2 separate regions of the Homo sapiens genome follow, and region 2 is linked to region 1. The links are contacts of gene promoters, found by promoter capture Hi-C in human tissues and cell types (Jung and others, 2019). All regions are on one chromosome and are shown on one strand. Each heading gives the region's core, a stretch centred on a gene start or on the middle of the fragment in contact. The rest is flanking DNA. Distances are from core to core; before and after follow the strand shown. Region 1 holds the start of OR1G1 (olfactory receptor family 1 subfamily G member 1). Region 2 holds the start of LOC100288728 (a long non-coding RNA gene).

Region 1 (7,589 bases), core at 1,790-4,289:
GCATGCGGGGGTTAAAACCTAGATGACAGGTTGATAGGTGCAGCAAACCACCATGGCACGTGTGTACCTATGTAACAAACCTGCACGTCCTGCACTTGTATCCCAGAACTTAAAGCAAAAGCAAAAAAAAAAAAATAATAAAAAAATAAAAAAGAAATGTTCTTCAGCCGTTTAGCCAAGTGGATCCTGTGACCCCCAGGGTGTAAGGCCCAAGGTGGGCTGCCTTATAGGGTCTCTCAGCTGTAGTGTAAGTGGAGTACCTGCATGTGAGACTCATTCCCCCTGTGCAGCTTTTCTGAGCCTTGGGGGACCAGCTCGAGGTGAATCCTAGGCGTCTGTTGTTCCTTGCTGCCTATCTGTGAATAATAAACGTGCTTGATGTCACTTGTTGTCTGTGTGGGTGTTCTGTTTCACTCGACTCGGACAAGTTGGTAACCGGTGCACAGTGAACCTGCTTCAGAGCTTCTACCTCAATGGCTGACACCGATTGAAAATACACTACGTACTAGGAGTTAACCCTGTATGTGTATTTATGCACATTTCATTTAATTATCACAGAGAATGCTTTACATATATTATCATATTTAAACTTACAACACAATGAGGTAGGCTTTTTCTTTTTTTTTTTTTTTTCCAAACATTAAATAATTTCCTAGGATCACACAGCTTAAACGTGGCAAAGCCGGGGTTTGAACTTGATTCCACAGCGTCCACGCTGCTTACCACTTTGCTCTACTACCTTTTATTATCAGACGATCGTGTCTGGGCTTCAGATAAGGTGAATAGGGAGCTGGTGAGCTAGAATTGCTATTATCTACAGCAATTACCATCTATGGCACAGCAGCCTGCAGTCAGATACCTGAAGGTAAACAGACAACAAGAATGAAAAACAGCACCCAGTTGTGACATTTTATTTTCCTATAGAAACGTATTGGTTGTGGCTGTAACGTACTGTACAGAGTCTTGCCACAACGTCTACTGACAAAGCTTTCCAAGTCGTTTTTGGCAACCATGCACAATAATCAATGTATTCTGAAACCGTTGGCCTGAGTTGACCTTGGGAGAAATACGGAAGAGTGTGGTTAACTGTGGACATCAGTTATGAACTGGTGGCACTGGGCTCGCATGCTACGGTAAACAGCTGGAAGTTGATTCTGCAGGCAGTTTCAAGCCACTGGACATTTCTCTTAGTGATATAATGGTACCCTATGAAGATTAATCTGATTATGGTGTACAGAGTTGATGGAAGGCGGGTAGACTGAGGACTGAAGACCAACTAGGAGGAGGCTTTAATCATTCAGGCAGGAGAGCATAAAGTGTCCATAAAAATCATTCTTTTCCCCTAACTTTAAGTTGTAACCATTTCAGTGGGATTCAGCACCTATCAATGGTACCAGGCATTACGCCATGTGGTAAGCATTGGGGCTGCAGAGATGAAATGAGTGTGGAAAAAATTGCCCTGAAGAGGAACCTGAGGTTTTCACATGAAGTCTAAGGTGGCAGGAGGATTATGGGTCTTGGAGGCCTGGTAAGACACTGCAGTGAGTCTGTCTGAAGATGCCATCTCCATCAAGCCCTTCCTAGACCCAGTTCCTCATCACTGAGCATGGGAGCATCACAGATACGGGCAGTGCCTGTGGCAGAAACACTGTGGGTGGGGATCCGAGTGATCAGGATCACAGTGATGCTGGGGGAAGGTCGTCCTTCCCTGAATTTTATTCTTGGCCCTATACAACAGCCCAGCCAGATATTCCCTTATTTCAGTCATGAGCTGTCCCATGTTGTTTAAAAAGCATTAACTAATAACATTATTAAATCATCAATATTATTAACTATAGTAAATATAATAAGGCATGACATTATATTATACATCTGGATGGCTGTGGTTTTAGAACATAATTGTAAGAACTTCACCTGTGACATTGGCCTGATGATGGGTTATGATGCAGTCCTGTAGCTTAGACATGAATATTTCAGGTTCAGATCGTAGGTACTGGAACAGAGGTCTCTAGATTCTCTCCATCTTTCATTCTTCACTGCTTACTGTGGTGAACGCAGGTGCATGGAGACCCCCATATTGGATGTCAAGTCACTACCACTAAGGGGAATGAATTTTCCGAACCCAGATTAACTTTCTCAGGGAAGACTTTATTTCTTGGTTCCTCAAACTGTAGATAAAGGGATTCAACATTGGAGTTACCACTGTGTACATCACTGATGCAACTGTGTCCTTCTGGGCCGAGTGGGTTGAGGGAGAACTGAAATCAACACAAAAAGAAGTCCCAAAGAAGAGAGAGACCACGGAGAGATGAGAGCTGCAGGTGGAAAAGGCTTTCCGCTTCCCCTGAGCTGATGGGATCTTCAGGATGGTCGAGAAAACGTTCGTGTAAGAGATAATCAGGCAAAGCACACAAATGAGTCCTGTGAGACCCCCAGTGATGAAGATCACCAGCTCATTGGTGAAGGGGTCTGTGCAGGACAGACTCAGGAGGGGATTGATGTCACAGAAGAAGTGTGGGATCTCATGGTTTGCGCAGAAGGACAGGCTGTTCATCAGAAGTGTGTGTAGAAGGGAGTGGAGGGCATTCATGATCCAGGATGCAGACACGAGGAAGATGCAGAGCCCAGGGCTCATGATCAGAATGTAATGAAGTGGGTGGCATATGGCCACGTAGCAGTCATAGGCCATGACCGCCAAGAGGAATGCCTCCAGCATCACAAATAACATGAAAAAATACAACTGTAGTAGACACCCTGAGTAGGAGATGGCCTGACTCTGGATCTGTATGTTTGCCAGCATCTTAGGGACTGTGGTGGACACAAAGCAGGCATCTGCAAGGGAGAGGTTGGCTAGAAAGAAGTACATGGGGGTATGGAGTTGAGTGTCAGTAATGATGACTAGAATGATGAGGAGGTTGCCTGCCACCGTGACCAAGTACATGAACAGGAAGGACCCAAAGAGGGGCTTCTGCTCCTCCAGCTGCTCAGAGAACCCCAGGAGGAAACATTCTGAGATGCTGGTCAGATTTTTCCCCTCCATTTGTCTGTAGGAAGAAAGTTGGGTTAATTGGGTGACGTTGGTAAGCCCTGGATTGTGAACTCTGAAAATTATGCAATATTCCAGTGTTGATCTTCTAGTGTGAGGTTGGATCATAGGAAATCTCCACTATTTGACTCTTTGGGACCTGCAAAAATGGCCATTTCATAGGGTTCGACTAAATATTTGCAAATTCCTGTGCTTGGTGCTATGAGAAACCACAGATTTGTTTGTAATGCAATGAGAGGCTTTTAAATTTATTCCATAAGCATTAAGCCAATATGTGTATTTTGGGGCTGGGCTGGAGGGGCTTGCTGGCTTTGCTCTGGTAGTGTTCATGTAGAAACTATGACATTTATACAACCCAAGATTTTACAGGTCAAATGAGCCCATTGTACCAATAATTAAAAAGACAGCTCCTGGAAAGGGGTTTTGGAATTGGGAAAAGCATGGCTAACATGGAAATCATTATCACTGTTATCTACACAGCGGGTCTGGCCAGAAACCTGAGCGTCATTATTGACCCACGTTTCTCCCTCCCTGCCTACATCCAACCACCACCAAAGCCTGGCAATTTTACCTTCTCAATATGGCTACAATTTACTGACGTCTCTCTGTTTACTGGTCACCATCAGTCCCAGCTGCAGCTCATGTCATTCAGGGCACTGTGATTTCTCACTTGGATTTGGGCAGTTGATCTCCATGCCCCCAGGTATGCCCACCTGCCACCTGCTGTTCTAAATACACAGAGAATAGGCTTGCTAAAAATCAAATTCGACTCTTGTCTTTCTGCTTGAAAAATCCTTCATACACTCCTCATTACTCCCAGGATAAACTCTAAACTGAACACGGCTGAATGTCCTGGATCTTACCGTCATTTATTACAGACATCCCCAGTTCCTCATGAAACTCCCTCCTCCACTCCACACTTTATGCACTAATCATAGTTTCAATTATTTTAAAGGCCCAGATACTCCCTCACCTTTAGGCTTTCTCAGGCTGAAATAGTTTTTCCCATCCCATTTATCAGACGAGCTAAGCTTCAGGTCTCACCTTAGATGTCACCTCTTCTGGGAAGTCTTTCCCAACTCATCCTCTCACCAGAAACTCAGGTTCGTGACCTTCCTAATGCAGTGCCTCCCCCATCACAGCACGTGTCACCTTGGATTCTGAGTGTCTGTTTATATGAGTGTCCCTCATTCTGCTGTGAGCATCACTGGGAGTAGGCAGAGATGGTGCCTAATTGGCTCAGCTTTGAAATCTAGCATTAGCCTTGAGGCTGGTACAACACAGATGCTCAGTATGAATCTATCATGTAAATACATAAACCCCAGAGAATGGAAAGAGTGGGAAGAATGGAAAGGGGCTTTGCTATAGAGGTAATATCAGGCATAAGAATTAGCCTGAACCTTTATTATTATTGTTATGATTTTTGAGATGGAGTCTCACTCTGTCACCCAGGCTGGAGTGCAGTAGCACGAACTCAGCTCACTGCAGTCTCCACCTGCTGGGCTCAAGTGATTCCCTTGTCTCAGCCTCCTGAGTAGCTGGGATTACAGGCCACTGCTACCACACCTGGCTATTTTTTTTTTTTTTTTTTTTGTATTTTTAGTAGAGATGGGGTTTCATCACATTGGCCAGGCTGGACTTGAACTCCTGACCTCAGGTGACCCACCTGCCTCGGCCTCCCAAAGTGCTGGGATTACAGGCATGAGCCACCACACCCAGCCAACCTTTTTGTTAGTAGGTTCAGTGGTAGCTTTGAGTTAATGGAGTCCTGGCCATAGGAATATGTAGGGAAACACTACGGTTACAGAGAGATAAGTGTTCCAAACAAATGCATTCTTTCTAGGTGAAATTCTTGGGATGGAACAGTGTTTCAGCTGAGTGATTAACCCACGGAATCAGTTTCCCTGTGCCGCTTTTTTTTACCTTCAGAGTTTAATATAACCTATGGATTTGTAAGCCTTAGTTACGTACACTAAAATTACTACTTACTAGGCAATAGTGGCATCTTATGTCTTATTCTCTCTCTGACCATGGATATTTCTTATTTATTTATTTTTGAGACGGAGTCTCACTCTGTCACCCAGGCTGGAGTGCCGTGGCAGAATCTTGGCTCACTGCAACCTCTGCCTCCTGGGTTCAAGCAATTCTGCTGCTTCAGCCTCCCAAGTAGCTGGGACTACAGGCACACGCCACCACACCCGGCTATTTTTTTTTTTTTTGTATTTTTAGTAAAGATGGGGTTTCTCCTCATTGGCCAGGCTAGTTTCAAACTCCTGACCTCAGGTGATCTGCCCACCTTGGCCTCCCAAAGTGCTGGGATTACAGGCGTGAGTCACCGTGCCTGGCCTGAACATGGCTATGTCTTACCGAACTATCTTCTGCTAGTATGTGGATGCCCCAGGGACTGTGGTATATGTTACTTCTCTCCTCAATACAATTCATCAAAGGAAAAAACAGAAAACCCAGAAGCAGAGCACAGTATTCCTCAGACTTTGCTTTACTAACAGTGGCACTGCCAATCAAAAGGAAGAAGAGATTGAACGAACAATGCTGGGACAAGCTGGTTAAGTCTCTGGAAAATTAATTTAAATTCCAACCTAATAGCACTTACCTGAATAAGTTTCAGATGGTTAAAGCATTTTCCCTGCAGATGTAACTCTAAAGCAACCAGGAGAAAATGCAGCACAATATTTACTCTCAGGACAAGGGTGGACTTTCTAAGTAAAAAACAGTGAAGAAAACAAGAAAGGAAAGGAATAATTGGTTTGATCAAATTAAATTAAAAATACACCATGGAATACTATGCAGCCATAAAAATGATGAGTTCATGTCCTTTGTAGGGACATGGATGAAATTGGAAATCATCATTCTCAGTAAACTATTGCAAGGACAAAAAACCAAACACCGCATGTTCTCACTCATAGATGGGAATTGAACAATGAGAACACATGGACACAGGAAGGGGAACATCACACTCTGGGGACTGTTGTGGGGTGGGGGGAGGGGGGAGGGAATAGCATTGACGAGTTAATGGGTGCAGGACACCAACATGGCACATGTATACATATGTAACAAACCTGCATGTTGTGCACATGTACCCTAAAACTTAAAGTATAATAATAATAATAAAATTCTTTTAAAGAAAAAGATCACATGCAAAGTAAAAAAACAAAGTAGGAAGGTACTTTTTGCATTTATTAAGGAAATAATTAATATTCTTAAAAGTGTTATGTTCCATTAATGAGAAAAGGGTATCTTTCCTTCATTCATAGAAAAACGAAGAATCCCTTGAGCCTTAAGTCACATCCAGCAAGTGGCAGAGCCTGGATGCAGCCTCCACTGTTTAATCCCAAGCTTCTTGTTCTTCTCACCTGCCCACGTGGTCTTCTTTAATCATTTTATCTGCCAGCCGCTGAAATCTCCAAGGTCTCCCCCTTGCGTGTTCTTGGCCAAAATGTGGTCATAGTAGGTGATGTTTCCCTTACTCCCTACCAAGAGTCCCCATTACCACTCAAGGCATGTGTTTATTAGCCTCTGCCTTCCTCATCCTCCCAAGACAGAGCTCTAGGTGAAGTGGGTGGATTCGTGGGGCTCAGTGCATTTTTTTTTTTTTTAAGACAGAGTCTCACTCTGTCATCCAGGCTGGCATGCAGTGGCGCAATCTCACCTTTTTAATCTGCCTAAGTCAATGAAAGGCTCTGCCTCCTGGGTTCAAGCGATTCTCCTGCCCCAGCCTCCCGAGTAGCTGGGATTCCAGGCACATGACACCACACTTGGCTAATTTTTCTATTTTTAGTAGAGATGGGGTTTTGCCACGCTGGCCAGGCTGGTCTCGAACTCCTGGACTCAAATGATCCAACTGCCTCGGCCTCCCAAATTGCTGGGATTACAAGCGTGAGGCACCGTGCCAGCCTCAGTGCATATTTACAGGTGCATCTACAAGGCTCTCCCGACGCCCTGGTGAGCACGATCACCCCTGCAGCTCCCTCACTTTAACAGCTGTTGCTTTTTGTGGTGCCTGGAATTGATTCTCACCTCTCCCTCATGTAGGACAAGCCTTTCATTGACTTACGCAGATTAAAAAGGCCTTAGAATCCTCACCCTCCTTCATCGTGGGGCTCTTGGCTGTTTCTAGTTTAGCAGAGATGGAAACCTCAGCCCGTTTCCCCTCCATTTTTTCTCTTGGTCCCCAAGTCACTGACCAGAGATCTTATTTCCTTCCTTCTCCTTTTAGACCTTTAGGTCTCAACTTTTAGACAACCACGTGCCCAGTGAATGGCCAGCCCTTCGTCCACATAGAAAACCCTTTCCATGCATCGTCCTTCTTTCTTTTCACGTGGAGTCAGCAGGCATTTTCTTAGGCTTATTAGGAACCCTAACTCCAACAACTCAAAATAAAATCGTTCTTATATTCTATATTAGCTATGTGCTGTTTTAGAAGACATTTTGTCTGTGGTAGATGGATTACAATTTTTGGTGAACTTAGTTTGGATGCCTTAGGACCCAGGTTCAAGTTTGAAGGTGGAAATAAAGTGTAGAGAAC
Region 2 (7,589 bases), core at 1,604-4,103, 45 kb after region 1:
GGGAAGAACTCAGTCCTGGCAAGATTTATCACCTGCTGACTAAAGAGCCCTTGGGCCCCAAATAATCAGCAGCAGTAACCAAGTAGTACACACCATCAGCCTTGGGTGAGACTCAGATATTCTGGCTTCAGGTTAGACCCAGTACACTCACAGCTGTACTGTCTATGAAAAGAGATGCCTTCTGGTTAAGAAAAGCAGAGGGAAGCACAAAGGGGACTTTGTCTTGCAGCTTAGGTACCAGCTCAGCCACAGTCGGGTAGAGCACCAAGCAGGCTGTTGGAGTCCTTGATTCCAGTTCTTGGCTCTTGGATGGCATTTCTGGGCATACCCTGGACCCAAAGGGAGCCTTTTGCCCTGAAGGGTGAGTCCCAGGCCTGGCAGCATTCACCATGAGGCTGATTGAAGAGCCCTGGGGCCTTAAGCGAACACCGGCAGTAGCCTGCTGACATAGTTTGGATATTTATCCCTGCCCAAATCTCATGTTGAATTGTAATCTCCAGTGTTGGAGATAGGGCCTGGTGGGAGGTGCTTGGGTCAGGAAGGCAGATTCCTTACGGTTTGGTGCACGCCTCGTGATCATGAGCGAGTTCTTGAGAGATCTAGTTGTTTACGTGTGTAGCACCTCCCATAACAACTGTCTTTCTCTCCCACTTTTGCCATGTGAAGTGTCTGCACCCTTCTGCCAGAGGAAAAGTTCCCTGAGGCCTTCCCGGAAGCAGATGCTGATGTACAGCCTGCAGAACTGTAAGCCTATTAAACCTCTTTTCTTATAAATTACCCAGTCTTGGATATTTCTTTATAGCAATGCAAGAGCAGCCTAACATGGAAAATTGGTATTGAGAAGAGGGGAATTTCTATAAAGATACCTGAAAATGGCTACATCTGAAAATGTGGAAGTGACTTTAGAACTGGGTAATGGGCAGAGGATGGAAGAGTTTGAAGGGCTCAGAAGAAGACAGAAAAATGTGGAAAAGTTTCGAACTTCTTAAAGACTGGCTAAATCGTTGTAACCAAAATACTGATGGTAATATGGACAGTGAAGTCCAGGCTGATGAGGATTCAGATGTAAATGAGGAACTTACTAGAAACTGGAGCAAAGGTCACCCAGTTTATGCCTTAGCAAAGAGCTGGGGTGCATTGTGTTCATGCTCTAGGGATCTGTGGAAGGTCGAACTTGAGAATGATGACTTAAGATATTTGGCAGAAGAAATTTCTAAGCAGCAAAACATTGAAGAAATTGCCTGGCAGCTTCTAACAGCCCACACTCAGATGCAGGAGCAAAGAAATAACTTAAGGTTGGAATTTATATTTAAACAGGAAGCAGAATGTAAAAGTTTGAAAAATGTGGAGCCTGGCTATGTGGCAAAGAAAGAAAGAACTTTTTATGGAGAGGAATTCAAGCAGGCTGTAGAGCAACCACTTGCTAGAGATACTTGCATAACTAAAGGGAAGGCAAGTGCTACTATCCAAGACAATGTGAAAAAGTCCTTGAAAGCATTTCAGAGACCTTCATGGCAGCCCCTCCCATCATGGATCCAGAGGCCTAGGAGGGAAGAATGGTTTCTTGGGCCAGGCTCAGGGTTCTGCTGCCCTGTGTAGCCTTGGGACACTGTTCCCATATCCCAGCCACTCCAGCTCCAGCTGTGATTCAAAGGAGCCCAGGTACAGCTCATGCTGCCACTTTGGAGAATGTAAGCCATAAGTCTTAGTGGCTTCCATGTGGTGTTAAGCTTGCAGGGGCACAGCAAGAGTGAAGGAGGCTTGGCAGCCTTCACCTAGATGCCAGAGGATGTATGGGAAAGCCTGACATCCAGGCAGAAGTCTGCTGCAGAGGCAGAGCCCTCACAGGGCAGTAAGGAGAGGAAATGGGGGATTGGAGGACCCATACAAAGTGTGCCCACTGGGGCACAGCTTAATGGAGCTGTGGAAAAAGGGCCACCACCCTGCAGACCCTAGAATGGTAGATCCACTGGCAGCTTGCACCCTATACCTGGAAAAGCCACAGGTACTCAACTCCAGGCCATGAGAGAAGCCACAGGGGCTGAACCCTGGAAAGCCACAGTGGTAGAGCTGCCCAAAGCCTTGGGAGGCCATTCCTCATATCAGTGTGCCCAGGATGTAGGACACGGAGTCAAAGATTATTTTGGAGCTTTGAGATTTAATGACTGCCCTGCTGGGTTTCAAGCTTGAGTGGAACCTACAGCTCCTTTCTTTTGGCCAATTTCTCCCTTTTGCAATGAGAATGTTTAACCAATGCCTATAGCCCCATTGTATCTTGGAAGTCCATAACTTGTTTTTGATTTTATAAACTCAGGTGGAAGGGATTTGCCTTGTCTTGGATGAGAAATTGAACTTTTGGAACAAGTTAAGACTTTGGGGGACTGTTGAGAAAGCATGATTGTGTTTTGCAATGTGAGAAGTACATGAGATTTGTGGGGGACCAGAAATGGTATTATATAGTTTGGATATTTGTCCTTGCCCAAATCTCATGTTGAATTATAATTTCCAGTGTTGCAGATGGGGCCTGATGGGAGGTGTTTGGGTCATGGGTGGAGATTCTCCATAGCTTGGTGCTTTCTTGTGATAATAAGTGAGTTCTTGCAAAATATGATTAAGTGTGAAGCACGCCCCTTCCCCACCTCTCTCTCTATTGCTCCCATTCTCACCATGTAAAGTGCCTCAAACTTCCACCATGAGTAAAAGCTATCTGAGGCCTCCCCAGAGGCAGATGCCAGTGTTATGCTTCCTGTATAGGCTGCAGAACCATGAGCCAATTAAACCTCTTTTCTTTTAAATTATCCAATCTCAGGTATTTGTTTATAGAAATGCAAGAACAGCCTAATACACCTGTCAGTATTTCTTATGGGCCTGTGGTGGTGGTGGACATGGGGAGAGACTCCTCTGTCTGAGGAAAGGTGGGGGAAGAGTGGGAAGGCCTTTTTCTTGTGGTTTGGGTGTCATCTTCAGATGCAGTAAATTGAGCACCAGGTAGATTTCTAAGGCTTCCAACTATAGGCCCTGGCTCCCAGATGGCATCTCTGGACTCACCCAGGGCCTGGGTGACTTGGCAGTCCAAAGTGAAGAAGACAAGCCTGGTTGTCTTTACCACCTGCTGACTGTAGAGCCCTAGGGCCTTGAGCAAACACAAGTGGTAGCCAAGGAGTGGTAACAGTGGGTCTTGGATGATACCCAGTGCTGTGCTGTCTTCAGGTCTGACCCAGCACAGCCCTAGTGGTGGTGGCCACAGGAGTACTTGTGTTACCCCTCCCCCAGGAAGCTCAGGAAGCTTCCAGGAAGCTCAGCACAGAGAAGGGGAGAGAGAGATTCCATTTGTTTTGGAAAAAGTAAGGGAAGAGATCAAAAGTTTCTGCCTGGTACTCCAGATAATCCTTCTGGACCTTATCCAAGACCACCAAGGAGGTAGGTACCTCTACAAGTTGGCAAAAACCACAGCATTACTGAGCTTGAGGTGCACCCTAATGCAGATATGGCTGCAGTGACAAAAAAAAATGTAGATCACAACACCCAAGTCCCTTCAAATACCTAGAAAGCATTTCCAAGAGGACAGGTACAAACAAGTCCAGACTGGCAAGACTACAATAAATATCTAACCCTTCAATCCTCAGCCACTGAAAAACTTCCACAAGCATCAAGACAATCCAGGAAAACACGGCCTCACCAAATGAACTACATAAGGTAAGAGGAACCACTCCTGGAGAAACAGAGATATGTGAACTTTCAGAGAGAGAATTCAAAATAGTTGTTTTGAGGAAACTCAAAGAAATTCAAGATAACACTGAGAAGGAACTCAGAATACTATCAGATAAATTTAACAAAGAAATTCAAATGGATAAAAAGAATCAAGTAGCAATTCTGAAGCTGAAAAATGCAATTGACCTGCAAAAGAATACAGCAGAGTCTCTTAATAGAAAAAATGATCAAGCAGGAGAAAGAAATAGTAAGCTGGAAGACAGGGTATTTGAAAATACACAAAGGAGGCAAAAAAAAAAAAAGAATAAAAAAGAATGAAGCATACCCACAGGATCTAGAAAATAGTCTCAAAAAGGCAAATCTAAGAGTGATTGGCCTTAAAGAGGAGGTAAAGAGATAATGATAGAAAGTTTATTCAAAGGGATAATAGCAGAGAATATCCTAAACCTAGAGAAAGATATCAATATACAAGAAGGTTGTAGAAAAGCAAGCAGATTTAACCCAAAAAAGACTACCTCAAGTTATTTAATAATCAAACTTCCAAAGATCAAAGATAAAGAAAGGATCCCAAAAGGAGCAAGAGAAAAGAAAAAAATAACATACAATGAAGCTCCAATATATCTGGCTGCAGACTTTTCAGTGGAGAAAAGGGTAGGAGAGAGTAGCATGATATATTTAAAGCACTGAAGGAAAAAACAAAGTTTACCCTAGAAGAGTGTATCTGGTGGAAATATCCTTCAAATACTAAGGAGAAGTAAAAACCTTCCCAGAGAAACAGCTTGCTGAGGGATTTCATTAACACTAGACCTGTTCTACAAGAAATCCTAAAGGATGGTCTCCGATCTGAAAGACAAAGATGTTAACGAGCAATAAGAAATCAGCTGAAGGCACAAAACTCAGTGCTAATGGTAAGTACATAGAATATTAATTGTGGTGTGTAAATTCTTCTGATCTTAATTAGAAAGACTTAAAGAAGAACCAATCAAAAATAATTACCAAAACAACTTTTTAAGACACAGATAGTACAATAAGATATAAATAGAAACATCAAAAAATTAGAGAGGTGGAGGGATGAAGTTAAAGTGTAAAGTTTTTATTCATTTTCTTTTTGCTTGTTTGTTTATGCAATCATGTTAAGTTGCCATCAGTTTAAAATAATAGGTTATAACACATTATTTGCAAACCTCATGATAACCTCAAATCCAAAAACATACAATGGATACACAAAAAAATAAAAAGCAAGAAATTAAAACATACTATCAGAGGAAATCACCTTCACTAAAATAAAAAAAAGGAAGGAGGGCCAGGCGCAGTGGCTCATGCCTGTAATCCCAGCACTTTGGGAGGCCGAGGTGGGTGGATCACGAGGTCAGGAGATCGAGACCATCCTGGCCAACATGGTGAAACTCCATCTCTACTAAAAATACAAAAATTAGCCAGGCATGGTGGCGGGCACCTGTAATCCCAGCTACTTGGGAGGCTGAGGCAGGAGAATCACTTGAACCTGGGAAACAGAGATTGCAGTGAGCCGAGATCGTGCCACTGCACTCTAGCCTGGCGACAGAGCAAGACTCCATCTCAAAAAAAAAAAAAAAAAAAAAAAAGGAAAAGATAGGAAGGAAAGTAAGACCACACAACAACTATAAAACAAATAATAAAATGGCAGTGGTAAGTCCTTACTCATCAATAATAACACTGAATGTAAATGGACTAAACTATCCAATCAAAAACATAGAGTGGCTGACTGAAAAAAAGCAGGACCCAGTGATCTGTTGCCTACAAGAAACACGCTTCATCTATAAAGGTACACAGAGACTGAAAATAAAGGGGTGGAAAAAGAGTAGGAGTGGGTATATTTATATTAGACGAAATAAATTTCAAGCAAAAACTATAAAAAGAGACAAAGAAGGTCATTATATAATGATAAAGGGATCAATTCAGCAAAAGGATATAACAATTTTAAATATGTATGCACCCAACATTGGAGCACCTAGATATATAAAGCAACATTATTAGAGCTAAAGAGAGAGATAAACCCCAATGCAATAATACTGGAGACTTCAACAGCCCACTAGCATTGGACAGATCTTCCAGAAAGAAAGTCAACAAAGAAACTTCAGACTTAATCTGCACTATAGACCTACATGGATCTAATTGATATTTATAGAACATTTGCTCCAATGGCTGCTGAATTCACATTCCTCTCCTTAGCACATGAATCATTCTCAAGGATAAACCATATGTTAGGTCACAAAACAAGTCTTAACACATTCAAAAAAACTCAAATAATATCAAGTATCTTCTCTGACCACAATGGAATAAAACTAGAAATCAATAATGAGAGAAATTTTTGGAAAATATACAAATATATGGAAATTAATATGCTCCTGAATGTCCAGTGAGCCCCAACTGGTTAGTACTAAAAAATGCCCAGGCTACAGCATCACAAGGTAAAATGGGAACCCAATCCAAAGTGGGGTGGGTCGCTTTACTGTGGGGGGCTCCCTATCACTGAAAGCCCTAAACAGGCAAAACAGCCTCTACCAGCACTTTGGGAGGCTGAGGTGGACAGACACCTGAGGTCAGGAGTTGGAGACCAGCCTGGCCAACATAGTGAAACCCCACCTCTACTAAAAAATACAAAAATTAGCCAAGCATGATGGCGGGTGCCTGTAGTCCCAGCTACATGGGAGGCTGAGGCAGGAGAATCCCTTGAACCTGGGAGGCGGAGGCTGCAGTGAGCCGAGATGGCACCACTGCATTCCTGCCTGGGCAACAAGAGTGAGACTCCATCTCAAAACACAACAAAACAAAAAAAAACAAGAAAAATGAACTCGATTGCCTTCCACAGCACCCCTAATTCCAATGCGCATCCTTCTAGCAAAGGGGAGAAGAAGAGGAGTCAGAAGTAAGGGAAAACAGGGGGAGGAGCCAACAAGGCCGAATAGGAACAGCTCCGGTCTACAGCTCCCAGCGTGAGCGACGCAGAAGACGGGTGATTTCTGCATTTCCATCTGAGGTACCGGGTTCATCTCACTAGGGAGTGCCAGACAGTGGGCGCAGGCCAGTGGGTGCGCGCACCGTGCGCAAGCCGAAGCAGGGCGAGGCATTGCCTCACCTGGTAAGCGCAAGGGGTCAGGGAGTTCCCTTTCCGAGTCAAAGAAAGGGGTGACGGACGCACCTGGAAAATCGGGTCACTCCCACCTGAATATTGCGCTTTTCAGACCAGCTTAAAAACCGGCGCACCACGAGACTATATCCCACACCTGGCTCGGAGGGTCCTACGCCCACGGAGTCTCGCTGATGGCTAGCACAGCAGTCTGAGATCAAACTGCAAGGCGGCTGCGAGGCTGGGGGAGGGGCGCCCACCATTGCCCAGGCTTGCTTAGGTAAACAAAGCAGCCGGGAAGCTCCAACTGGGTGGAGCCCACCACAGCTCAAGGAGGCCTGCCTGCAACTGTAGGCTCCACCTCTGGGGGCAGGGCACAGACAAACAAAGAGACAGCAGTAACCTCTGCAGACTTAAATGTCCCTGTCTGACAGCTTTGAAGAGAGCAGTGGTTCTCCCAGCACGCAGCTGGAGATCTGAGAACCGGCAGACTGCCTCCTCAAGTGGGTCCCTGACCCCTGACCCCCGAGCAGCCTAACTGGGAGGCACCCCCCAGCAGGGGCACACTGACACCTCACAAGGCAGGGTACTCCAACAGACCTGCAGCTCAGGGTCCTGTCTGTTAGAAGGAAAACTAACAAACAGAAAGGACATCTACACCAAAAACCCATCTGTACATCACCATCATCAAAGACCAAAAGTAGATAAAACCACAAAGATGGGGAAAAAACAGAACAGAAAAACTGGAAACTCTAAAACGCAGAGCACC

What was found. The method cuts DNA at HindIII sites, captures the fragments that hold promoters and counts their contacts. A contact is called where the count stands out against the background at its distance.
Region 2: a fragment that was not itself captured here is called in contact with the fragment with the promoter of OR1G1 in region 1 in 10 of the 25 tissues and cell types used here (dorsolateral prefrontal cortex, heart left ventricle, lymphoblastoid cells and 7 more).

What each region holds. Positions count from the first base shown.
Region 1 is chr17:3,124,512-3,132,100 of GRCh38, forward strand. OR1G1 (olfactory receptor family 1 subfamily G member 1) reads right to left here and starts at 3,040. Exons shown (of 1, transcript NM_003555.1): 1 at 2,099-3,040. The coding sequence starts at 3,040. The coding sequence ends at 2,099. The HindIII fragment of the contact is 6,207 bases long and covers 1-5,238 here.
Region 2 is chr17:3,169,899-3,177,487 of GRCh38, forward strand. LOC100288728 (a long non-coding RNA gene) reads right to left here and starts at 7,037. Exons shown (of 4, transcript NR_147912.1): 1 at 6,978-7,037. The HindIII fragment of the contact is 5,977 bases long and covers 1-5,842 here.